4 separate regions of the Homo sapiens genome follow, and all the other regions are linked to region 2. Evidence: promoter capture Hi-C in human tissues and cell types (Jung and others, 2019). All regions are on one chromosome and are shown on one strand. Each heading gives the region's core, a stretch centred on a gene start or on the middle of the fragment in contact. The rest is flanking DNA. Distances are from core to core; before and after follow the strand shown. Region 1 has its middle 7.3 kb from the start of ZNF441. Region 2 holds the start of RAB3D (RAB3D, member RAS oncogene family). Region 3 overlaps SMARCA4 (SWI/SNF related BAF chromatin remodeling complex subunit ATPase 4). Region 4 holds the start of TMED1 (transmembrane p24 trafficking protein 1).

Region 1 (2,850 bases), core at 36-2,535, 420 kb before region 2:
AATGGGCTGAATGTGGTAGCTCAGGTTCCCTTCTTTTTTAATATGGCCATCAGTCCCACTCCTGAGATAACTCATTAATTCAGTAAGCCATGAATTCATGAATGGATTAATTTATTTATGAGGTCTGAACCCTTAAGATCTACTCACCTCTTAAAGGCCTCACCTTTCATTAGTGCCACATTGGCGATTATGTTTCAACAAGCATTTTGGAGGGGACAAACATTCAAACCTAGCAGTGAATGGCCGGGCGCGGTGGCTCACTCCTGTAATCCCAGCACTTTGGGAGGCTGAGGTGGGTGGATCACGAGGTCAAGAGATCGAGACCATCCTAGCCAACATGGTGAAACCCTGTCTCTACTAAAAATACAAAAATTAGCTGGGCATGGTGGTGTGCGCCTGTAATCCCAGCCACTCGGGAGGCTGAGGCAGGAGAATCGCTTGAACCCAGGAGGCGGAGGTTGCAGTGAGCCGAGATTGCGCCACTGCACTCCAGCCTGGAGACAGAGCAAGACTCTGTCTCAAAAAAAACAAAAACAAAAACAAAAACAAGCAAAAAACCTAGTAGTGAATGATCAGGTATGCTCCCTCTGCCAAGCATATCACAAAAGTTTGAACTCTCAGAGGGAACATAGGAGTTCAGCAGATACCATATTTTTTACATAGTTTAGGGACACTCATCCTCCATTATCGCTTATGTTGGTGAAGCCCCCTAACTAAATTTAGTTCCTAGATATAGTGAAAGGTTCAACTTTGTGAGCAAGCATTTGTAACAATATGCGGTCTCAGGACAGCTGATGTTAACTCTTCTGCCCATTAGGTAGGAGGACTTTGTCACATCAGGAATTACAAACATCCTGTACACATAGATATTAGGGGTGATCTAGGCAATAAATGTCACTCCTTTAACTCACCAAGGAGTGGCATTTTATAATTCGACTGTTATTTTACCAAACACGTTTAATTCTAGCATTAGAATTGCATTCTGGGAGAAAATGAGTTTAGAAAGAGGGTAAGAGTTGGATTACCGTGTCGTTGCATAAATGTTTGGACACCACAGCATCATGTGACATTTATGTAGTGAGTACAGATTCCCAGTGCTGTCAGTTTCAGCTTTCCTCCTCTGCACGTGTCGGGTGTTTCAGGACTCAGTGGCCTTTGAGGATGTGGCTTTGATCTTTTGCCTGGGAGGAGTGGGCTTTGCTGGGTCCATCATAGAAGAGTCTCTACAGAGATGTGCTACGGGAAACCATCAGGAACCTAGACTGTATAGGTAAGGGGGACATCATGTCTTTACTTAGTCAATTACGAATATTTGTTTCTTCGTCACCAATGCTGTTCAAAGATTTAGAATATAAAAGAAATACGTTTGACCCTTGAACAATGCAGGGATTAGGGGCACCAGCCCTCAATGCAGTCACAAATCTTCAAATAACTTTTTTCTCCCCCGCAACTTGACTACTAATAGCCTACTGTTGACCAGAAACCTTACTGGTAAGATATACATTCAATTAACACATATTTTATATGTCATATGCATTACATATTGTTTTCTCACAATAAACTAAGGCAGAGAAAAATGTTAATCAGAAAATCACAAGGAGAAAAAACTATATTTACTATTTCATTAAGTAGAAGTGGAGCATCATAAATGTTATCATCCTTATTGTCTTCACATTGAGTAGGCTGAATAAGAGGAGGGGTTGGTCTTGCTGTCTCAGTAGTAGCAGAAACTGAAGAAAATTTGTATGTAAGGAGATCTATGCAGTTCAAACCTGTGTTGTTGAAGAGTCAACTGTGGTTTGGTGAATAAATCATCCATAACTGCAGTCTACATAAAATCTTACATTTTTAATATAATTTTATTTTTATTTATTATTATTTTTTTTTTGAGATGGAGTCTTGCTCTGTCACCCAGGCTGGAGTGTAGTGGCACGATCTTGGCTCACTGCAGCTTCTGCCTCCTGGGTTCAACTGATTCTCCTGCCTCAGCCTCCCGAGTAGCTGGGACTACAGGCGCACGCCGCCATGCCCGGCTAATATTTTTTTGTATTTTTTAGTAGAGACGGGGTTTCACTGTGTTGCCCAAGCTTGTCTCGAACTCCTGAGCTCAGACGATCCACCCACCTCGGCCTCCCAAAGTGCTAGGATTACATGCGTGAACCACCGCCCCCGGCCTCAATGTAATTTTATAATAATATATAGTGATTCTTCTGGGTCTACATTTTAGGAATGAAATGGGAAGACCAAAACATTAAAGATTAGTACAAAATTCCCAGAAGAAATCTAAGGTAATTTGCCCTAGGAAGAGAAAGATATGTCTTTGGAATAATTCTTAAAGTGACAGGAAATTTTTCACACCTATAATTCCAGCACTTTGAAAGGGTGGGGGGGTGGGGCGCAGTTCAGGAGGTCGGGAATTCGAGACCAGTCTGGCCAACATAGTGAAACCCTGTCTCTACTAAAGATACAAAAAATTAGCCAGGCGTGGTGGTGTGAACCTGTAGTCCCAGCTACTTAGGAGGCTGAGGCAGGAGAATCGCATGTACCCGGGAGGAGGACGTTGCAGTCAGTCGAGATCATGCCATTGCACTCCAGCTCAGGCGAAAGTGCAAGACTCCGTCTAAAAAAAAAGACAGGAAAATTTTAAAACAAGCAAAATAAATAAATAAATAAATAAATAAAAAAGAATAATCCTGGCTTAAATTTATTCACTCTTAGAAAATTTTCTTCAAAAACATACTTAAATGGGACATAGCTGTTAAGTGTGTCTGCAAAATAATTTCCTTGGAAAACAGTACTAAGAATTCCCACGTGAATATTACTGTTCCGATGATAGCCACAGTTGAGTTA
Region 2 (2,700 bases), core at 155-2,654:
GCTCAAGGAATCCTCCTGCCTCAGCCTCCCAAAGGGCTGGGATTACAGGCATCAGACACTGTGCCCAGCCTCATTTATTTTTTAATTTTTTTTTTTTTTTTTTTGAGACAGAGTCTCACTCCATCGTCTAGGCTGGAGTGCAGTGGCGCGATCTCGGCTCACTGCAACCTCCACCTCCTGGGTTCAAGCGATTCTCCTGCCTCAGCCTCCCAAGTAGTTGGGATTACAGGTGTGCACCACCATGCTCGGCTAATTTTTGTATATTTATTTATTTATTTGAGACAGAGTTTCGCTCTTTTTGCCCAGGCTGGAGTGCAGTGGCGTGATCTCGGCTCACTGCAACCTCCGCCTTCCGGGTTCAAGCAATTCTCCTGCCTCAGCTTCCAGAGTAACTGGGATTACAGGCATGCGTCACCACGCCTGGCTAATTTTGTATTTTTTAGTAGAGACAGGGTTTCTTCACGTTGGCCAGGCTAGTCTCGAACTCCCGACCTCAGGTGATCTGCCCACCTCGGCCTCCCAAAGTGCTGAGATTACAGGTGTGAGCCACCGTGCCCAGCCCCTAATATTTGTATTTTTTTTTTTTTTTTTTTAGTAGAGATGAGGTTTCACCATGTTGGCCAGGCTGGTCTTAAATTCCTGACCTCAAGTGATCCGCCTGCCTTGGCCTCCCAAAGTACTGGGATTACAGGCATAAGCCACCGCGCCCAGCTCTCGTTTATTTTTATTTATTTGAAACAGGGTCTTGCTCTGTTGCCCAGGCTGGAGTGCTGTGGTGCAATCAAGGCTCACTGCAGCCTCGATGTCTCCAGCAATCCTCCTGCCTCAGCCTCCCAAGTAGCTGGGGTTACAGACGCACGCCACCACACCTGGCTAATTTTTGTTATTTTTAGTAGAGATGAGGTCTCCTTACGATGCCCAAGCTGGTCTCAAACTCCTGGCCTCAAGTGATTCTCCTGCCTCGGCCTCCCAAACTGCTGTAATTACAGGCCACCGCGCCTGGCCTAGCCTACTTTAAGGCCGGCACTGCACTTGACAAACACTAACTCAGATCAGAATCCTCCCACAACTCTGTGAGGTTGGGTACTCTCGCTATGAGCTACTTGACGGATGGGGAAACTGAGGCTCAAAGAGGTTAAGTAACGCGTCCAAAGCCACAAGACTAGAAAGTGGTGGAGCTGGGACTCGAACCAGGCCCAAGACTCTATGCTTTTAACAGCCGTGCGTATAGTAGAAGCTCTTTACAAGCAGCTGGGAAAATGAGATGTTGCTTGGCTAGGACGGGCTCTAGACGCTTGGTGCAGCTTCCAGCCCCTCCCACCCGCTCTCTGAAAGCCCCGCCCAAGACTCGGCCCCTCTTCGTCCTCCCCCATCCCCCGCTCCGGGAACGGCCCTTCCTCCGCCTTCTGGGCGGAGCCCGCGCGGGATCCGGGTGGCTGCAGGCTGCTGGCTTCTGCGGCTGCGGGGTCGGGGTCGCGGCCAGGGCCAAGCCGCAGCGAGTTCACAGGCGGAACCCCTGCAGGCGGCGCCCCCTACGCGAGGTCACCCCTGGGAAGGAGCGCAGCCCACCCGGCCCCTCCGCATCCGAGCAGGTCTGTGGGGTACGGGGGTTTGGGAGGAAGGTAGGGGGTCTGGGGAACAAAGGCGGGGCTGCGGGGAACGCCTCTGCCCTCGCCCCCACCCAGCTGGGCACTTGGGAAGCGCTGATGGGGCGCGGGCGGGGCAGAGAGCCCAGCTGGGGACAGGCGTTGGGACCATATGGTGATGGGGGAAACTCCTGAGTCCACCTGCATTGGCTGGGGCGCCCCAAATCTAGTGAAGGGGAACAGAGGCGAGCCCTCCGGGGCCAGGCTTGAGGGAGGGTCGGCAGATGGTTAGAAAGAGGCGGGACCGACTGACACAGGTGAGCTAAGGCTGGGGGAGGTGGGGGCCCCAGCCTTGCGGCCCTGCCCTGCGTGGGGAAAGGTTTCCTGCCTCTTCTCTTCCCCTCCTTAAACTCGTTCTCCTGGAACACGGGGTGGGGCCGGTTGGGTCCTGGTTTAAAATGGAAAAAAGCCCCAAAGGCAGTTGAGAAATAGCTGTGCCAGGGCTGTCTCTGCCTCTGCCCCGCCTGCATCCAGGCCTTCTGCAGCCTCTCCGTGCGGTTCCCGCAGCGGCCATAGACAGCTGGGGAAACTGAGGCCTGGGAGAGGTTATGAGGGTTGAGGGAGCACCTTGGACTCGGATGAAGCAGCATGTTGGAGTGTGGGCAGATTCAAGGAGCCTAGCCGTGGGACAGATTGCCTGGAAAGACCAAGGGTGGGCGGCAGTGGTCGTGGTGGTGGGGTTGTGTTAATTAAGTGGCTGGGATCGTTTCCTTGGGTATAAGGACTCTCACTCCTGCCTCCGTGGACTGGGGCTGGAGTGAGTCAGCCTTGGGCAGAAGGAGACAGGCCTGGCCCCTTTGACAAATAGAAAATAGCAGTACCCATTTAGGGGGTAGAACTGGACTCTAAACCTGGGCCCTGTACATAGAAAACCCCTTCCCCTTGGAACTCAGAGAAGGGGTTGTATTTGGCATGAGTTGGTGGGCGGCAGGCGCCCCAGTGGCTGACACCTGCCAAAGTCAACACCCAAGCCTTAATCAGGGGCTCTATCCAGCTTATCCAGCTGGCAGGTCCTCCCCCCACCCCACCCCAGCTTACACCTGGGCCACACCGG
Region 3 (2,700 bases), core at 65-2,564, 310 kb after region 2:
TTCACCCATCAGACAAGCGACAATTTACACACTGAGAACGCTGCTGCCCTCACGCTGCAGGGAAGGGCAGGGTACATTCACACCCCAGCGTAGGAGTGAAACCACTTTGGCAGTAGCAACCAGAACACGAAGAGGACAATGTCTGGGGTGGAGCGACCCCATGTCTGAGGGCTGCGCAGACCTAGGGTGTTTGCACAAGCACTCTGAGAGAAAGAGGGACCCTGCTGGGTTGGTGACCAGGCTGATCAACAGAAAAGACGGATGCCTGCCAACCAGAGTTTGAGAGCAGACGTCCAGGGGTGGCCATCTGCCGGGACGCCTGGTGGCCGATTAGATGGCTGGGTAGCTTCCGATGTGCACTCGGCGGTTGACACCCACTGCTTGGTGGAAGAGGCACATGCTAGGCCACGCCGCATCTGTGTTAATCTCAGTACATACATGTGCGAAGGCAGATGGGCTGGCAGAGGCTCAGAAGAGAGCACGGTTGGAGAGGAAGGGAAAAGGGACTCCTGACTGTCACTGGTGTTTACATGTTAAAAACAATAAGAACTTATCAGTCTTATAATGAAACACAGAGAAAAGTTTAACTCATTTTCAAATTCTTGTAGCTATGTAACAGCATGACCTGGTATCCACCGATGCCGAGGCCCATGAGGGGTACATGGTTATGGAACAAGAGGAGGAAGTAAACGAAGTGGCATGGAGTTTACCCCCAATTGTGTCTGAACAAGCGCCAGTGTGTGTGCTCACAGGGCACACTGCAGGGGCCGCCCCACAGTGACGGCGCAGATTGATCAGGATACTTTCCACCTCCTCATGGGTGCCATTCCAAGATTTAAGAAAAACCAAACCGACGGATGGCTTATACACTGCTTTCCCAATCAGAGGGAAAGGCTGTTTGTATTTTGGGAAACAGGAGGACCCCGCCTCTTTTCTCCCTGATGACCTATGGAGATATGGGTGCAGCTCCTCCCGGCTCCTGGGGTCCAAGACAATGTGGAGGAGGCTGGAGGACCCTCAAGCCAGGGCCGTCTCCTCGAGGTTTTGCAGGCACCCCCTTCCTTCTCCTCGACCTGGGGCCCGGCCCGCTTTTACCTGGTGAGGATTCCAGTCGCTGTCAAAAATGATCACAGTGTCTGCCGACTGGAGGTTCAGGCCGAGCCCCCCAGCCCGGGTGCTGAGCAGGAAGATGAAGTACTCAGAGCCGGGCTCGTTGAAGGTTTTCAGCAGCATGCCCCGGTCCTCCGCCTTCGTGGTTCCTGACGGGCACAGAGGAGAACAGGGTCAGCGGGGTGACCTCAGGGGTAGAGTGGGGACACCAAGGAACACCTGCTTCTGAGAGCAGGAGCAGGATCAGCACCTGCCAGCATCCCCAGATCCCTGGCTCCGCACTCTCCACACGGGCCTGTGGGCCACTGGCGAATAACTGGATTTCCAGTGTTTCACCACAAAACGTCTCTCCACACATCCCAGAAATGAAAACAGGCCCCGCTGGGAGAACTAGAGGAGGTGGGCCTGGAGCACAGAGTCCAGCACCCAGCCCACAGCTAGGCCACAGCGTCCAGCGTCAGCACAGCCACCACCACCACAGCCCTGGATTCTCTCCTCTACTCTACCCTGTGCCATTCCATGGGGAGCGGAAGACACAGCGGCCAATGCCGGCAACACCGCCGCTCGCAACACAAGGGACCTGGGGGTGGGTGGACAGTGACTGTGGGTGCACCTGCCTTCAGCCCTGTCTCAAAAAGTTTTGTGGTTCACAAAGAGAATCTTCTACGGTAAAAGCATGGAGACCTTATAAAGGGGGCTCGTGTCCTTTCTGGCAGGATCAGTGTCCCCATGCCCCAGAAAACCCAAGTCAAGGAGCCAGAGCAGGTCTCCTGGGTGACAACCCACGATGCCCTCAGCGTTGTGGGCATTAAGGCAATGTCAACACTCCCTGCGCTGCTGGGAGTTCGGACAGAGGTGCCCCTGAACACTGAAGTCATTTTGGTGATGAAATAAAAACTGGCAGGCCGGGCGCGGTGACTCATGCCTGTAATCCCAACACTTTGGGAGGCTGAGGTGGGTGGATCGCCTGAGGACAGGAGTTCGAGACCAGCCTGGCCAACATGGTGAAACCCCGTCTCTACTAAAAATACAAGAAAATTAGCTGGGCGTAGTGGCGGGCGCCTGTAATCCCAGATACCAGGGAGGATGAGGCAGGAGAATCGCTTGAATCCAGGCGGCGGAGGTTGCAGTGAGCTGAGATCATGCCACTGCACTCCAGCCTGGGCAACAAGAGTGAAACTCCGTCTCAAAAAAAAGAAGAAATAAAAACTGGCCATTTCCTGCCACCAGCCTACACATGCCCAGGCACGGTGCAGAAGCCCACAGTAGCCTGGCCATCCACCTGCCGTCCCACCCTCTCTCAGGCACCAGATGTGCCCCTGCTACTCCAGCTCGGAGGAGGGGCTGAGGTGAGGGGCCACCCGGCTCCCAGATGCCAGCCCACCCATGGGAGATGCAGTCTCAGGAGACTTCACTGAGCTCCTACCCTTCCTCTACTCGCAATGGATTCTCTGGCCCTGTGGCCATGACCACATCACATGCAGAGGACACATCTGTAGTTCAACTGACCAAAGTCCTTGTCCTTATGGAGTAGGCAGAAGGGCACTGGGATGGGTGGGAACCAGGCTCTCTCCTGGGGGAGTCAGGGAC
Region 4 (2,700 bases), core at 157-2,656, 500 kb after region 2:
GAGGATCGCTGGAACCCCAGGAGACGGAGGTTGCAGTGAGTCGAGATCGCGCCACTGCACTCTAGCCTGGGCAACAGAGGGAGACTCTGTCTCAAAAAAAAAAAAAAAAAAAAAGGAAAAAAAAATTAAAAAAAAAAAGAAAAAAAAGAAAAGGAGTCACCCGTTCTCCACTGTTACTTCAAATTGTCCAAGCAGTGAGTGTAAATGATAGAAAAAGTTGGAGTGAAAAGGAATACCAAACTGATATTACAAAGAGCTACTTCCCCAAATTCTCCAAATGCAGGAAAGTGCTGACAACAGCCAGCTGTATTTGAGGGATCTTTGTCATCACCTGCCAACCTTTTCCGGGTTTATCTTTGAAGACTAAACATCTCCCTGTACACAGTTTATGTTTAGACGGGAACCAAATAACAGATTATTATTTACTGAGGGCCTGTGATGTCCCACGCACTGCGGAAGCAAGCACTCAACAAGCATTTCACGTATCCTAAAGACAGCCCAGTAGCGTAGGCCTATTATCCCCATTTTGCAGAAGAGGAAACTGAGGCTCAACAGAGGGAATGCCTCAAGTAATGGGTGGGGCAGGAGCTGAACCAGGCAACGTGGCTCCCAGTCCCACACTGTCCTTATCTCTTCCTACCTGGGCTGTCGTTTTTCTGACCCGAGGCTACTGTAATGGCTCTATTTACCTGCTGGCCCTTGAGTCTGAGACCCTTGGGGTGCATGGTGGGGCCACGCCCCTCCACTGTCTATAAGCCAGGAAAGCTGAGCACTCAATATGAACCAAGCCTCATCTCAATTCTCACAGCCGCACTACAGGGTGGTCGTTCCATCACTCCCGACTTACGAGGAAACTGATACGCTGATGCCTCTAAGGCGCAAAAGGCGTCGAACCTGGACCACGCTCACAGAGCAAGCAAAACACGACGCCACAGGTATCTCCGCCCCGCCCCAGCCCTTTTATAGGCGAGCCCTACGGGTCGCGTACAGGGCCACGCCTAGACGCTATTTTTGGGTCCACTCCACCACGTCGGTCCCGCCAAAGGTTGTCACGCGCGGCGCACTCTGGGAAAACCACGTGGAGGTGACTAAAAAGGACCCTGCCGCCTGTAACTTTAGTTGTCTTAGCTACTGCCTACAAAAGATGCGCCATCATGGCACTTATTTTTGTAATTTTCCTCCACCAGCGGCCGAGAAGAGAGCCGAAGCCTTTGAGAAAAATATTCCCAGACGGTTGAGTGTTTCTGGGCACATCAGGCATTCATTCGGGCCGCCTGCCCTCTAGTGGGGGGGTCCTTCACTCCTGGCACCTCTGGTTACGGACAACATACAGAAGCCACTGCCAATGAGCTCCGCCGAGTAGCACCGGGGCAGGGCTAGCGCTTAAAGGAGCCGCGACCCCTTTGCAGACCAGAGGGTGACCCGGATGATGGCGGCCGGCGCGGCCCTAGCCCTGGCCTTGTGGCTACTAATGCCACCAGTGGAGGTGGGAGGGGCGGGGCCCCCGCCAATCCAGGACGGTGAGTTCACGTTCCTGTTGCCGGCGGGGAGGAAGCAGTGTTTCTACCAGTCCGCGCCGGCCAACGCAAGCCTCGAGACCGAATACCAGGTAGAGGGTCGCGGGCTGGGCGGCCAGCAGAGTCAGGGAGAGGGGGCGTGGCCAAGCGGTCGAGGCGAGGCGCGCTTTAGGAGGAAGGGGGAGGAATCCGTGCTTGGGAGCGCGGGGGCGGAGCTAGAAAGAGATGGACAGATGGGGCGGGGACGGTGTGTGGGAGCGGAAGGGGAGGGAGTAATGAAGCAGGCGGGGCTAGAGTAAGAGATCCAGAGGGGGCGGGGCCATCGATAAGTATAGGGAGCCTCTGAGAGGACAGGACTCTGGCTGGTGGGCGTGGCGATAGTGCTGATAGGTCAACTGCGGGGGCGTTGCCCACACAGGCCTTTCTCGGGGGTTAGACTAAGGAAAAAGGCTGGGCCTATCCTCTTTCGGAGGCGGAGCCAACCAGGGGCGTGGTCAGGTAAACGTCCATTAAGTACTTTTGGTAGGTGCGTGGTCAGCTGAAAGTATGGACCCCAAGCTGTCATATCAATGAGGGTGGAGGCAAGGGGCGCAGCCACTGGGACAGGTTGGGGCGGGTGTGGGTGTGCCGCCGTTCAGGTAAGCCCTTGGTGGTCTGTATTGATCAGTGTTGGTTCAGCCGTAGCCCTCTTCGGCAGGCGCCCTTGGCCTACCGCTAGCCCTCCACCCGCTCTTACCTGCCCCCCAGGTGATCGGAGGTGCTGGACTGGACGTGGACTTCACGCTGGAGAGCCCTCAGGGCGTGCTGTTGGTCAGCGAGTCCCGCAAGGCTGATGGGGTACACACGTGAGTTCAGTCTTGATGCCTGCCTGGGTTCAGTTACAGCCCTGCCCTTCCCAGGCGGCCTCAGGTTACCGCCCTGACTGCCCCGCTGAGTCGGCTGGCTGGCCACCCTGGGTCATGTCTGTGTGTCTGTCTGCCCAGGGTGGAGCCAACGGAGGCCGGGGACTACAAGCTGTGCTTTGACAACTCCTTCAGCACCATCTCCGAGAAGCTGGTGTTCTTTGAACTGATCTTTGACAGCCTCCAGGATGACGAGGAGGTCGAAGGATGGGCAGAGGCTGTGGAGCCCGAGGAGATGCTGGATGTTAAAATGGAGGACATCAAGGTGTGTCCAGGCTGCG

Evidence for each region. Contacts are between HindIII fragments. The study calls those that stand out against the background at their distance.
Region 1: a fragment that was not itself captured here is called in contact with the fragment with the promoter of RAB3D in region 2 in 1 of the 25 tissues and cell types used here (dorsolateral prefrontal cortex).
Region 3: a fragment that was not itself captured here is called in contact with the fragment with the promoter of RAB3D in region 2 in 1 of the 25 tissues and cell types used here (dorsolateral prefrontal cortex).
Region 4: a contact is called between the fragment with the promoter of TMED1 here and the fragment with the promoter of RAB3D in region 2, in 1 of the 25 tissues and cell types used here (dorsolateral prefrontal cortex).

Annotation. Positions count from the first base shown.
Region 1 is chr19:11,758,226-11,761,075 of GRCh38, reverse strand. No RefSeq gene overlaps it. Among named protein-coding and RNA genes, the nearest start is that of ZNF441, 7.3 kb to the left of the region's middle. The HindIII fragment of the contact is 5,499 bases long and covers 1-2,850 here.
Region 2 is chr19:11,338,361-11,341,060 of GRCh38, reverse strand. RAB3D (RAB3D, member RAS oncogene family) reads left to right here and starts at 1,404. Exons shown (of 5, transcript NM_004283.4): 1 at 1,404-1,592. RefSeq lists a silencer at 1,362-1,621. The HindIII fragment of the contact is 13,813 bases long and covers 1-1,611 here.
Region 3 is chr19:11,029,289-11,031,988 of GRCh38, reverse strand. SMARCA4 (SWI/SNF related BAF chromatin remodeling complex subunit ATPase 4) reads right to left here. Exons shown (of 35, transcript NM_003072.5): 25 at 1,096-1,259. Among named protein-coding and RNA genes, the nearest start is that of LDLR, 59 kb to the left of the region's middle. The HindIII fragment of the contact is 7,365 bases long and covers 1-2,700 here.
Region 4 is chr19:10,834,918-10,837,617 of GRCh38, reverse strand. TMED1 (transmembrane p24 trafficking protein 1) reads left to right here and starts at 1,406. Exons shown (of 4, transcript NM_006858.4): 1 at 1,406-1,609; 2 at 2,265-2,362; 3 at 2,501-2,684. The coding sequence starts at 1,427. It also overlaps a transcript of C19orf38 not described here. RefSeq lists enhancers at 1,132-1,231, 997-1,633, 2,271-2,700. The HindIII fragment of the contact is 15,983 bases long and covers 1-2,700 here.